Regions from separate parts of the Homo sapiens genome. Here region 1 is linked to region 2. Evidence: promoter capture Hi-C in 16 types of primary human blood cells and fetal thymus (Javierre and others, 2016). All regions are on one chromosome and are shown on one strand. The core of a region is centred on a gene start or on the middle of the fragment in contact, and the rest is flanking DNA. Distances in the headings are between cores, read along the strand shown.

Region 1 (6,062 bases), core at 2,339-4,838, 280 kb after region 2:
GTTTGAAAAGCACATAGCTTATGTGTATAATGCATAGAAAGTTAGCCCCAAAAATGTTCTCTGTTGTTATTATGGGATTTTTGAGTCAGGAAACAGGTCTACTTCTTTTCTGCCTTGGACTTGCAGTGTTACTCAGAGCCCCTTTCCTTCTGTAGACCTCAGTTTCTCTTTTATTACAGTGCAGCAGCTGGGCCAAACCAGGGATTATAAATTAAATAACTAAAGTATTGAAAAAGGTAACAAAAGCCTTGAGGGTTGTTGCTCTCTGGAGAGGGTATGCCATCTTTAAAGGGAGAAGCTGCCACTCAAATCCACCGAATTATTGCACTTTGGGAACATGAACATAGTGCTACCACATCTTCCAAATTTTTCAAAAGAAGCCATAAATTTTTTAGATCAACTGACTTTAAAATGCTTTATTATTATTATTATTTAATATATATTAGTCTGAGGCAGAGTCACACTCTGTCACCCAGGCTGGAGTGCAGTGGTATGATCTAGGCTCACTGGAGCCTCGACATCCCAGGCTCAAGCGATCCTCCCACCTCAGCCCACTGAATAGCTGGGACTACAGGTGAACACGACCACGCCTGGCTAATTTTTTTTTCTTTTCTTTTTTTTTTTTTTGAAACGGAGTTTTGCTCTTGTTGCCCAGGATGGAGTACAATGGCCTGGTCTCAGCTCACTGCAACCTACAACTCCCGGGTTCAAGTGATTCTCCTGCCTTGGCCTCCCAAGTAGCTGGGATTACAGGCACCTGTTACCATGCCTGGCTAATTTTTTGTATTTTTAGTAGAGATGGGGTTTCACCATGTTGGCCAGGCCAGTCTCGAATTCCTGACCTCAGGTGATCTGCCTTCCTTGGCCTCCCAAAGTGCTGGGATTACAGGCATGAGACACTGCGCCCGGCCCCTGGCTAATTTTTGTATTTTTTGTAGAGACAGGATTTCACCATGTTGCGGGCTGTTCTCTAACTCCTGGACTCAAGCAATCCACCCGCCTCAGCTCCCCAAAGTGCTGGGATTACAGGCGTGAGCCATTGCGCCAGGCCAACTCTGCTTTTAAAACACTATGAAGGTCAAAAAAACATGTATGGCTGTAGGCTGACTGGGGCCTGAGGATCACCAGATTGCCACTTCTGGGTTATACCAGTGGCTCTCACCCCTAGCTGATATCTGAGTCATCTGGGTAGCTTAAAATGCAGATTCATGGGTCCTGTCCAGAACCACTGAATCAATATTTCTGGTAAGGCTTAGGAATCTGAGCATAAACTCTGGCCCGGGATCAGATCCTGACTCTACTGCTCATTACCTGTGAAAGAACTTGTGCAAGTTCTTTCTTTGTGCCTCCATTTCCCAATCTAGAAAATGGGGTAATAATAACACCTATCTTAGGGTTGTGGTGGAACCTAGATAAGTTACTCTATTAAACTGTTAGCTGTTGATGCTGCTTTTGTTGTTATTGTTGGTGGTGGTAGTAGTAGTATTTGCAAATTTCCATGGGCTTGCAAATCACTGGGGCAGATGGTCTCTGGTCCTTCTGGCTCTAAAACTTCAACAGTTCTATGGCTCTGTGATTCCAAGATTCTAAGCATGTATTATCTAAGATTCTACTGTTCTAATGTCCTGGGATTCCAAGATTCTATGAGTCTGCATCTGCAGATCTTTCTAAGATGCTGTAGTTCTACAATTCAGGGTCTATCATGAAGGCAGCTGCCATTGGCTTAGCGCTTCCCATGTGCCAGGCACTGGGCATCACTTTAGTCATTGAATGTTTCCCATAACAGGCCGGGAGCAGTGGCTCATGCCTGTAATTCCAACACTTTGAAAGGCCGAGGTGGGTGGATCACCTGAGGTCAGGAGTTCGAGACCAGCGTGGCCAACATGGCAAAACCCCATCTCTACTAAAAATACAAAAAAATTAGCCGGGCATGGTGGTGCACACCTGTAGTCTCAGCTATTCAGGAGGCTGAGGCAGAAGAATCGCTTGAACCTGGGAGGCGGAGGCTGCAGTGAGCCGAGATCGCGCCACTGCACTCCAACCTGGGTGACAGAGCAAGACTGTAAAAAAAAAAAAAAAAAGAATGTTTCCAATAATAATATAGGGTAGGTGTGGTTATGCTAATACTGGAGATGAGAAAGGTAAGGCACAGAGAGGTGAAGGCATTTGCCTAAGGTCACACAGTTACTAAAGAATAAACTAGGAGGCTGGACGTAGTGGCTCATGCCTGTAATCTCAGCACCTTGGGAAGCCGAGGTGGGCGGATTACTTGAGGCCAGGAGTTCAAGACCAGCCTGGCCAACATGGTGAAACCCCATCTCTACTAAAAATACAAAAATCAGCCAGACATGGTGGCAGGCGCCTGTAATCCCAGCTACCCCAGCGGCTGAGGCAGGAGAATCACTTGAACCTGAGAGGCAGAGGTTGCAGTGAGGCAAGATCGCACCACTGCACTCCAGCCTGGCTGACAGAGCAAGACTTTGTCTCAAAAAAAAAAAAAAAAAAACAACCTACGATTTGGACCTTGCTGTGTTGTAGAAACAGCAACCCTGCTGACTGAGTGACTCCAGAGAGCAGGCTTCCAGTGTCTCACTGAATATTTGCACAAATCGTATGGATCGGGAATAGTATGCCCATTTTACAGATGTGGAAAAAGAGGCTCTGAGAAGTAAAGGGACTTTCACAGGCCACCAGCTAGGAGGTGGAAGAGGTAGAAATTTTCTTAAAACCTAACTTTATTTTTCCCACATGATTAACCCCTTGTCCTCAAACCTTTTCTTGGCCAATCTATCCTTCCTTCACTGCTCTAAAATACTGCATCACAGACTAAATACCACTCCTGGTTGTGGTTGTGAACATGCTGTTCCATCTTCTTGATTTGTCAGGCTGTTTGTTTTTCCTGGTGTTTTTTTTTTTTTTTTTTTGAAATAACAGCTCTGTTGAGCTATAATTCACATACTGTAAGCTTTACTGTTTAGAAGTGTACAGTTTAGTAGTTTTGTTGTATGTTCACAGAGTCGTACATCAGTTACCATCTAATTCCAGAACATTTTCATCATGCCAAAAAGAAACCTTGTGCCCATGAGCAGTCACTCACCATTCCCCCAGATCCCAGTCTCAACGTCTTCCAGCCACTAATCTACTTTTGGTCTCTGTGGACTTGCCTATTCTGGATCTTTTATATAAACAGAATCATATAATATATGGTCTTTTGTGTCTAGCTTTTTTCACTTGATGTAATACTTTCGAGGTTTATCTATAGTTTAGCATGTGTCAAAACTTTACTCCTTTTTATAGACAAATAATGTTTCATTGTATGCATAGACCACATTTTGCTTGTCTGTTCATCAGTTGATAGACATTTGGGTTGTTTCTCCTTTTTAGCTATGATGAGTAATGCTTCTGAACATTCATGTACAAGTCTTTTTGTAGATATATATTTCCAGCTCTCGGGTAGATACCTAGGGTGGAATTGTTGGGACATATGATAAATCTATGTTCAACTTTTTGAAGAACTGCCAGACTGGTTTCCATAATAGCTGTACCGCAGATGTGGGATTTAAATCCAGCTCCATCCATGGGGATAACAATGACAATAATCATTTCTTTTTCTTTTCTTTTCTTTTTTCTTTTTTTTTTTTTTTTTGAGACAGAGTCTCCCTCCGTCCCCCAGGCTGGAGTGCAATGGCGCAATCTCGGCTCACTGCAAGCTCCCCCTCCCGGGTTCACGCCATTCTCCTGCCTCAGCCTCCCGAGTAGCTGGGACTACAGGCACCCGCCACCACACCTGGCTAATTTTTTTGTATTTTTAGTAGAGACGGGGTTTCACCGTGTTAGCCAGAATGGTCTTGATCTCCTGACCCCGTGATCCGCCCACCTTGGCCTCCCAAAGTTCTGGGATTACAGGCATGAGCCCCCACGCCCGGCTGACAATAATCATTTCTTGAGTGCTTCTATGGCTTATATTAATTGCACACATACATGATGCCCTATGCTTGGCACATAGTAGGTGCTCAGCACATGTCACTTATTTGAATGAATAGGTGATGACTTCACCCACAGGGCCAAGCAGAAACATAGGGACTGAGGTGTAATCTGCCAATGGTAGCAGTTGTGAGTCACCTGAAGGGCACTCACTCTCAGTTCCAGCTACTTGTGGTCATGCTTGGATTTCAAGCTCACCATTACATGCATAAGCTCAATTAAGCTTCATCATAGTCCTATGAGGAGGTCTGAATATCCTTGTTTTACAGATGAGAAAACTGAGTCTCAAAGAGGTTAGGTCCCTTGCCCAGCATCAGACAGGGAGCCAGGATTTAAACCCAAGCAGGTGACTCCAGAGTCCAAGGCAGCTTTTCAGGGATTTGTATGCACAGACTGCAAATGGGTAGCCTGGCTAGTACATTGCATTGTTTCTACTACACAAATCTTAGACATTTTTAAGAGATTGCCAACATTTAAAAACTAGGATGCTGGCCAGGTGTGGTGGCTCAGGCCTGTAATCCCAGTACTTTGGGAGGCTGAGACAGGCGGATCACGAGGTCAGGAGTTCAAAACGAGCCTGGCTAACATGTTAAAACCCCATCGCTACTAAAAATACAAAAATTAGCCGGGCGTGGTGGTGGGTGCCTGTAATCCTAGCTACTCGGGAGGCTGAGGCAGGAGAATCGCTTGAAACTGGAAGACGGAGGTTGCAGTGAGCTGAGATTGCGCCACTGCACTCTAGCCTGGGCAAAAGAGCGAAACTCCGTCTCAAAAAAAAGAAAAAAAAAAAACTAGGGTGCTTCACATTTTACAAATCAGCATTTCCAACTCATCTGGAAAATGTCCATCAGGCTTAGTTTGGCTGCCCAATTGCATAGTACTCTACCACTCCCCACCCCCACCAGGTAAGATACACCTGCTGCCTCCACCCATTCGCCTTCCTGCTTGGGCCTGTGGGCGTGTCATCCTTCAGTCTTCATCCGTCTATTTATTCGCTCACCCTTTGCTGAGTATCTACTGTGTTCCAGGCACTTTTCTAGGCGCTGAGAACCCAGCAGTAATAATACAGGCAAAAATCTCTAACCTCGTGGATTTGAAATTCTTTTACAGAGAAACACAAAATAAACAAGGAGATAAGTAAAATATAGAGGATGTTAGAGAGTGAAAAATACTATGAAGAAAAATAAAGCGGAGAAGAGGAAAAGGGAATGTTAGGGCATAGATTTTTTTCCTTTTTATTTTGAAAATGTTTAAGGAATAGTCCCCATACACTGCACTTAGATTCACCAGTTGTTAACATTTGTGCATGCATGAACACATGTGCATGCATGTGTGTACATGCGCGTGCGCACACACAATTTTTGTTGTGATTTTTTTTTTTTTTTTTTTAGACGGAGTCTTGCTCACTCACCAGGCTGGAATGCAGTGGTGCGATGATCTCGGCTCGCTGCAACCTCCGCCTCCCAGGTTCAAGCAATTCTCCTGTCTCAGCCTCCCAAGTAGCTGGAACTACAGGCGTGTGCCACCACGCCTGGCTAATTTTTGTATTTTTCATAGAAATGGGGTTTCACCATGTTAGCCAGGATGGTCTCGATCTCCTGACCTCGTGATCCGCCCGCCTTGGCCTCCCAAAGCGCTGGGATTACAGGCGTGAGCCACCGTGCCTGGCTGACCTCATGACTCTTTACTCCTAAGTACTTTAACATGTATCTTCCAAGGACAATCTCCTACATTATTGTATTACTGTCAACACACCTAAAAACAAAAACAAACAAACAAAAATGCTAATTCTATACTATTGTCTCATTGGAAAGTCCATATTCAAATTGCCCTAAAATATCTTTTATAGCTATAGAGGATTTTTCAATCTGAGATTCAGTCAACATTCGTGCTTTGCATTTGATTGTTACACCTCATTAGTCTCTTTTACTCTAGAATAAATGAAGATTCCTTTTTCTTGTTCACAAGGTCTGGCTCGATCACCCAGACTGGAGTGTAGTGATGCCATTTTGGCTCACTTCAACCTCCACCTCTTGGGCTCAAGCCATCCTCCCTTCTCAGACTCCCAAGTAGCTGGG
Region 2 (6,048 bases), core at 1,429-3,928:
TAAGCAGCAGCGTGGCCCCCTCCCTGCGATCTATTCCACATCAGCACTGGCCACGAGGGTTTGTCCCTGGCACAGGGCCTGAAGAATGTGCTTCAGGTGCCTTGGCCAGCCTTTGCTTCCTCCTTCCAAACCCGAGGGCTCCTCCATAGCCCACATCCTCCACACCCCGCCCCACCCACTCCCTCTCAGGCTCCAGCTTTGGCCCAAAGTCAGACTAAGTGTGGCATCTCTGGGCGTTGGACCTGCCCAGTGGGTTTTCCACGATCCCAGGGGACGCGTGCCTGGGATGGGTGTGTGGCAGATCAGGTTTCTGTTAGCGACCAGAAGAGTCAGTTTCCACTAAACTTTATTTTTGATGAATGCATACCTTAAACATTATAGAACTGGATAAACTAGTGCCTGGGGATGAGGGCGGGAATGAGAAAACAAGCCCATTAAAACCCCAGCTGGGTTTTCTCAGACCCTAAAATCTGATCAAATAATAATAGCATTCTTCCACATATTCCTCATACTGGGGTCCATTTAAGATTAAGAAACTTTCCAAGACTCTGGAGAAAGCTTTCCAGACCCTGGACACTAGTTAAAGATTAGATATTGATAAGAATGAAACACGCTGTCTTGCAGGTGCACTCCGCACATAGGCGTGGAGCTTAGAATGCATATAAGCACTAGAAAAAGAAGTTTGTAGCTTTGAGTTGGTCTGGTAAGCTACTCTGACCTTCTCCCCATAGCCAGTTGGAGAAAGAACCTCCGTTCTTTCCCAGTCTGTCTGCATCTCCTTAACGTACATCAAGAACAAACAGCCGGGTCCTGTTCTGTCCCAGAACTGGTGGGAGAGGGAGTGCCTCTCCGAAGCCCTCTCGCGATCCCCACCTCCTCCCCACCCCACCTGGGCTGCTCCCGATGTTGTGACTGGGTTCAGGGAGCCATGGGGTGGTGGAGGCTGGTGTAGGAGGGTGGCCCCTGTCCCAGGTGCGGCCAGGGTCCTAGTCACCGAGCACAAATAACAAAATAATAAATTTAAAAATAAATGGAAAAAGAGAAAATAAGTGTGTGCACGAACAGAACAAATGGAAAGGCCCAGATGCCTCAGGGTGACAGAGAGAAGGGGCCCCACGTCACCCTCTGTGACCCCTTTCAACAGTCCAAGCTCTCTAATTCATGAATTCTACAGCATTCATTTATAAAGTACATAAATTTATTATGATCCTGTGCTTTGCTCCTGGATAGAAGAGAACTTGAGATGATGGAAAATCTCACAGAAGGGTGAAGGGTTCCCCAGCCAGCCTTGGGGTGGTGCCGGGTTGATGTTGGCCATAGGGGTCATCAGGAGGGTTCAGAGTCCCTGGGCCCCCATCAGCACACGCATCTCATGCTGTCCAGAATTCTAGAAGGGGACCTGTGGGCCTCCTCAGGGCAGCTGCAGGGTGGGCCTCAGACAGGTCACAGAATGAAGTGGGCAGTTGAGTGTGTGTTTCTCTGGCCCCCAAACAGCCACTCAGCATCCCAGATCTCAGGTAACACCAGCCTCTTTCTCCAGGCCCACCCAGGAAGGAGAATCCAGGAGTCATCGTTCCCCTGATGTTCCATTAGCTGACACTGGAGATAGTGACAGAGAGAGACACTGAGCGGGACAGAGATGGCCAGAGATGGGGGCGAGACTGAACATGGGCAGAAATGAGGACAGGAGAGCCAGGAGGAGAGGACAGCGGGGTAGAGAGAGTGAGATTCTGAGAGGGAAATAAAAATGGATGGAGACACAGGTGTAGGGAAAGGGAGAGGTGGATTGAATAGAAGCAGGGGGCAGAGACAGGGAGACAAGGAGAATGGGGGCTCCACCCAGGGCAGAACAGGCATGCAGCTACCCTGCACCCACAATCCCACGGAGGGGACAGGACTCACCTGCGACAAAGCCTGTCATCCGAGGTCCGGGCTGAGTCGCAGTTCTGGTTTATCAGCTTCACCATGAAGGTCCAGGGGCAGCACTGCTCAAAGCAGACTCTGAAGGTGCAGTTTCCACACGTCTGGGTCCTGGCCAAGGGCACGACGGCATCATCATAGCAACAGTGCTGCAGGGGGTCGTAGAACTTGTCCCCACATCTCTTGTGTGGCTGGCACAGCATCAGGTAAGGAGTCATGGGGGCCACTGGAGGAGACAGAGCTGGTGAGATCCAGGAGGTAGTGGCAGGTGGGTCCCAGCCTGGGGTCCCCTGGAAGGTGTACCCCTCCTCCAGCTTCCCAAACACTCCTGGGCTCACCTGGGGCTCCGTGTGAGCAGAGGAGCCTGGAGATGCAGAAAATGGCAAAGACAGCTGTGGGAAAGGGAAAGGGAAGATGGGGTGAGTGGACAGCCACAGATATGACTGGCACTGACATTTAGAAGAAGACTGGGTGGAACCAGGGCTCGGTATGGCTTTGAGCAGCTCAGGGACTGAAACAGGGCTGTGGATGGGGCTGATCTGGGCACTATGGATGGGGAATTGCTGTGAGCAATTCACGCCTGGAGATTTGGCTGGGCATGGGAACAGGGATGAGGTGTAGTTTGGGGTAGGGAGAGAGCCCTGGTGGTGGCTGAGATTGGAGATGGGCTCAGGTGGGAATGGGGTCCTGTCCTCCTTACCTACGATGCAGCCTCGGGGAGCCATGGCTCTGGGTGGTTGCAGTGGAGTGAGGAGGGGATCAGCAGATCTCAGCCACTCCTTTTATCCCATATTTCTAGTGGAGCTGGTGATGTCATGGCATTTCCTGCCCTCCTGCAAGTCCTGCAGAGACAGGCTGGGTCCTTGGGCAGGAGAGGTGCCAGGCAGGGTACGTGTCATTGTAGCTTTGATCTCACCTTTGTAATCAGGAGAGAAGCGGTACACCCTCCACCTTCTCTGTGCTATGTGCCCCAATCGTCCCCCACACTGAGTCCTCTGGAAAATAGGAAGGTTCAGGATGCTCCTGGCATTAACACTCTCCGACACTCACATGTCCACACAGCGATTCCACAGGATCCTACTGAGCTATGACTTTCCTCAGTTTCCTTGGGACATTGCTAACCCATGACATCATTTCAAAGGGTCCCATTAGGTCCCAACCTCACAACCGAAACACATGGTCAAGAATCCAGTAACTTCTCAGTCACCTGCAGCTCATGGCATTCAGGTGGGAGAGACTGTGTGACTCAGGCACCTGACTTTCACAGGTTTGGAAGGTGGGAGTGGAGCTGGCGGGACCCCTGGGACTCAACACTCCTCTGGGGGCTCTTCATCTCCTTCTCTGTCTCATTAATGGTCATTTACCCAGGACAGGTCCACTTGGGAGCCTACATGTCCCAGGCTTCGTGTCAGACACCAGTGATGCAGTGCTGAGTAGAAAACGCAAAGTCAGTGTCTTCGTGACGTTCATGACAGTGAGAGGAGAGAGAGAGAGAGAGAAGGTAGGAGAATAAAACTCCTGATTTTGGTTATTGTCGTTCTTGTGTTTGGTGTCATTATCACTGTGAAGTTCTGGTGGAGAAATTCCACATCCCCCCCTGAGATTCTCAAAGGTGTTTTTCCTTAATGTGCTTTTTCAGAGGGTTGGGTTGTGATTTTCCCTGAGAAGAGCCATCTTGGGGTCAGGATGTGAGGACAGAGGGGAAGGAGCTGTTTTGGGTCAGTTCTGTGCCCCCCTACCCCTGCCCAGCTTCTGCAGGAATTCCTCCGCTCAAGCTCACAGGCCACACATGGCATGGACAAGCCGTTCTCCTCCGGGCCAGGCAAGGTGACCTGTCACCCTCTAGGCACCATGGCTGGCTCCTAGCAGGGCATGGATGTGGTTAGATTTGTGTGTGTGGAAGATCCTGCATCTGTGTTCCTGGGGAGCACGGATAGGGGCTTCTCTCTGGAGGCAGGAGACACAGGAAGAGGCTGCAGAGAAATGACTTCAATAAATACCAGAGTGCTCAGCACCCACCTTCTCCCTCGACAGAGCAGACCCTGCTTCCAGCACCATCTCCCTGTCTGCTCCCTTGGCCTCTGTTCCTTGCTGCTGTGGGGTACAGCAGTGTTTTCTAGGACACAGATTAGGATGTGCTAGTAGCATGGAAAATCAATTTACTTGGGCATAAACAATGTTATTTTTAAGTGAAGAAATGGGTTAGAAAATGGGACAGTGTGCATTCAACAGAATGCTGTGCTCAACTGTTTATGACACTTTAAAAAAAATTATTTATTTTTTTGAGATGAAGCCTTGTTCAGTTGCCCAGGCTGGAGTGCAGTTGCACGATCTTGGCTCACTGCAACCTCTGCCTGCCAGGTTCAAGTGATTCTCCTGCCTCAGTCTCTGAGTAGCTGGGATTACAGATGCCCGCCAACACACCCGGCTAATTTGTGTATTCTCCATAGAGATGGGGTTTTACCGTATTTGCCAGGCTGGTCTTGAACTTCTGACCGCAAGTGATCTGCTCACCTCAGCCTCCCAAAGTGCTGTGATTACAGGTGTGAGCCACTGCGCCCAGCCTGTTTAGGACCCTCTTATTGGGACTGTGTATATTCCAAGTAATGATAGAATATTATTATATTGTTCTATCGTATGATATTATTATATGATAGCATAGCACATATCTAGAACTAGATATCTAGTTTCTGGAGGGAGTCACAGCCAAATGGTGAGGACACTTGGGAGCACAGAAGCCTCCAGGATCATCTCCTTCTTCTCTAAGAGCCACTGACATGTCTCCCCTTTGATGTCTTCCATAAAGGGGTAGAGTTCTCAGGTCCTTGGTTCCAGGCATTTTCTGGGAGGCTGCAGTGGAGCCCTGCACTGGTCTTACTGTCTCTACCAAGAAGAGGCAAGGCTGCCTGCATATGAGCCAGAGTGAGAGAGTGGAGCACCTTCCCCAGGGCAGGGGCAAGGTGGGCACCTCTGAGGAGGGAGGAGTCCAGCTGCTCCTTCCTGGCCTCTCAGAGCAGCTGAGTCAATGCAGCATCTGGAAGGTAGAGGGAGATTTTAGCAGATCATGGAGGCCTCGGAGGCTGGGACAGTGTGAGGCCAGTGGGCACCCGTCCAGGGCTCCCTGGACACTAAGAGCCCCCAATTAGACATGAGGAGGCTTTAGGGTCAGTCAGCCCTGCGTTCAAACCCTGTCCCTGCACCTTCCTAAGGTGTCAGAAGAGTCTGTGCACACAGCCATGTCCAATCCCGCCACCAATCCCTCGGAGTCCCCCTTCCTAACATGCCCACTCTGGAGCGTCCACGTCTGGGCATGGGTCTGTCTTCTGCCTGGGGACCCAGATGTGTGAGGTGGGACCAGGATTTCCCAGTGGAAGCCTGTCCTCAAGTGTCTGGAGAAGATCCCAGGTGTCTGGACAGTAAATGTAAACCCTGACCTCAAACGACCATCACCATCATTCTCTCACCCACTTCCTGGATCCAAGCAGGACACGGGCTGAGGTTCTGCTGCTGGTTGTCAGTGACACAGGCTGGGCCAGGACCCAGGTCTCCTGACCTCCTACCCAAGGGCTGCCAAACTCCCTAGGCCTGGCCCCTCTGGGAAGGGCAGGAAGGCTCTGTTCACAGACACTCCTGGAAGACACCCAGGTCTGATGTTCCCAGGGCTCCCGGGCAGGGCTGGCAGATCTTGGCTTCTGGAATGTGAAACCCCGGAGGACGCTGGCATTTCCCGCTGTCAGCAGCTCCCCCACTGCTTGCCCTTTTACGCCAGGAAAAAATAGGAATCTCCCTCCTGGCAGCTTTGGAGTGGCCTTTCCATCTGCCCTCAGGGAAGCCCTGCTAGGAAACAGGTGGGAATGAGGTGGAATTTCAGGTGTGCAGGTATGTAGAAGGAAGGCCGGGTTTCCCCAGGCCGGAGGCCCCTCTGCTGCTGGCTGACAAGGACGGGTCTGTGTGAGTCATTTTCTCCAAACACAATGTTGGGATTTCAGAAGCTCCCTGCAAGGGGGGTTTCTGTTGACCAAAGCCTGATCCCTGCTCTGGCAGGATCCTTCGTATGATGCAGACCAGTGAATTAAGAGCCTCCATGTCATAGGAGGGGCTGGAGGAGAGGCCCCAGGGTTTGCCACC

The links. Contacts are between HindIII fragments. The CHiCAGO score rates a contact against its expected background, and 5 or more counts as called.
Region 1: a fragment that was not itself captured here is called in contact with the fragment with the promoter of IGFL1 in region 2 in 2 of 17 cell types (M1 macrophages and M2 macrophages); the score reaches 7.9 in M1 macrophages.

The regions. Positions count from the first base shown.
Region 1 is chr19:45,946,184-45,952,245 of GRCh38, reverse strand. All of the region lies in intron 3 of NOVA2 (NOVA alternative splicing regulator 2), which reads left to right. Among named protein-coding and RNA genes, the nearest start is that of NOVA2, 25 kb to the left of the region's middle. The HindIII fragment of the contact is 1,242 bases long and covers 2,968-4,209 here.
Region 2 is chr19:46,226,372-46,232,419 of GRCh38, reverse strand. It overlaps IGFL1 (IGF like family member 1), which reads right to left and starts at 2,678. Exons shown (of 4, transcript NM_198541.2): 1 at 2,621-2,678; 2 at 2,259-2,312; 3 at 1,903-2,146; 4 at 1,177-1,599. The coding sequence starts at 2,645. The coding sequence ends at 1,590. RefSeq lists an enhancer at 2,131-3,330. The HindIII fragment of the contact is 5,684 bases long and covers 561-6,048 here.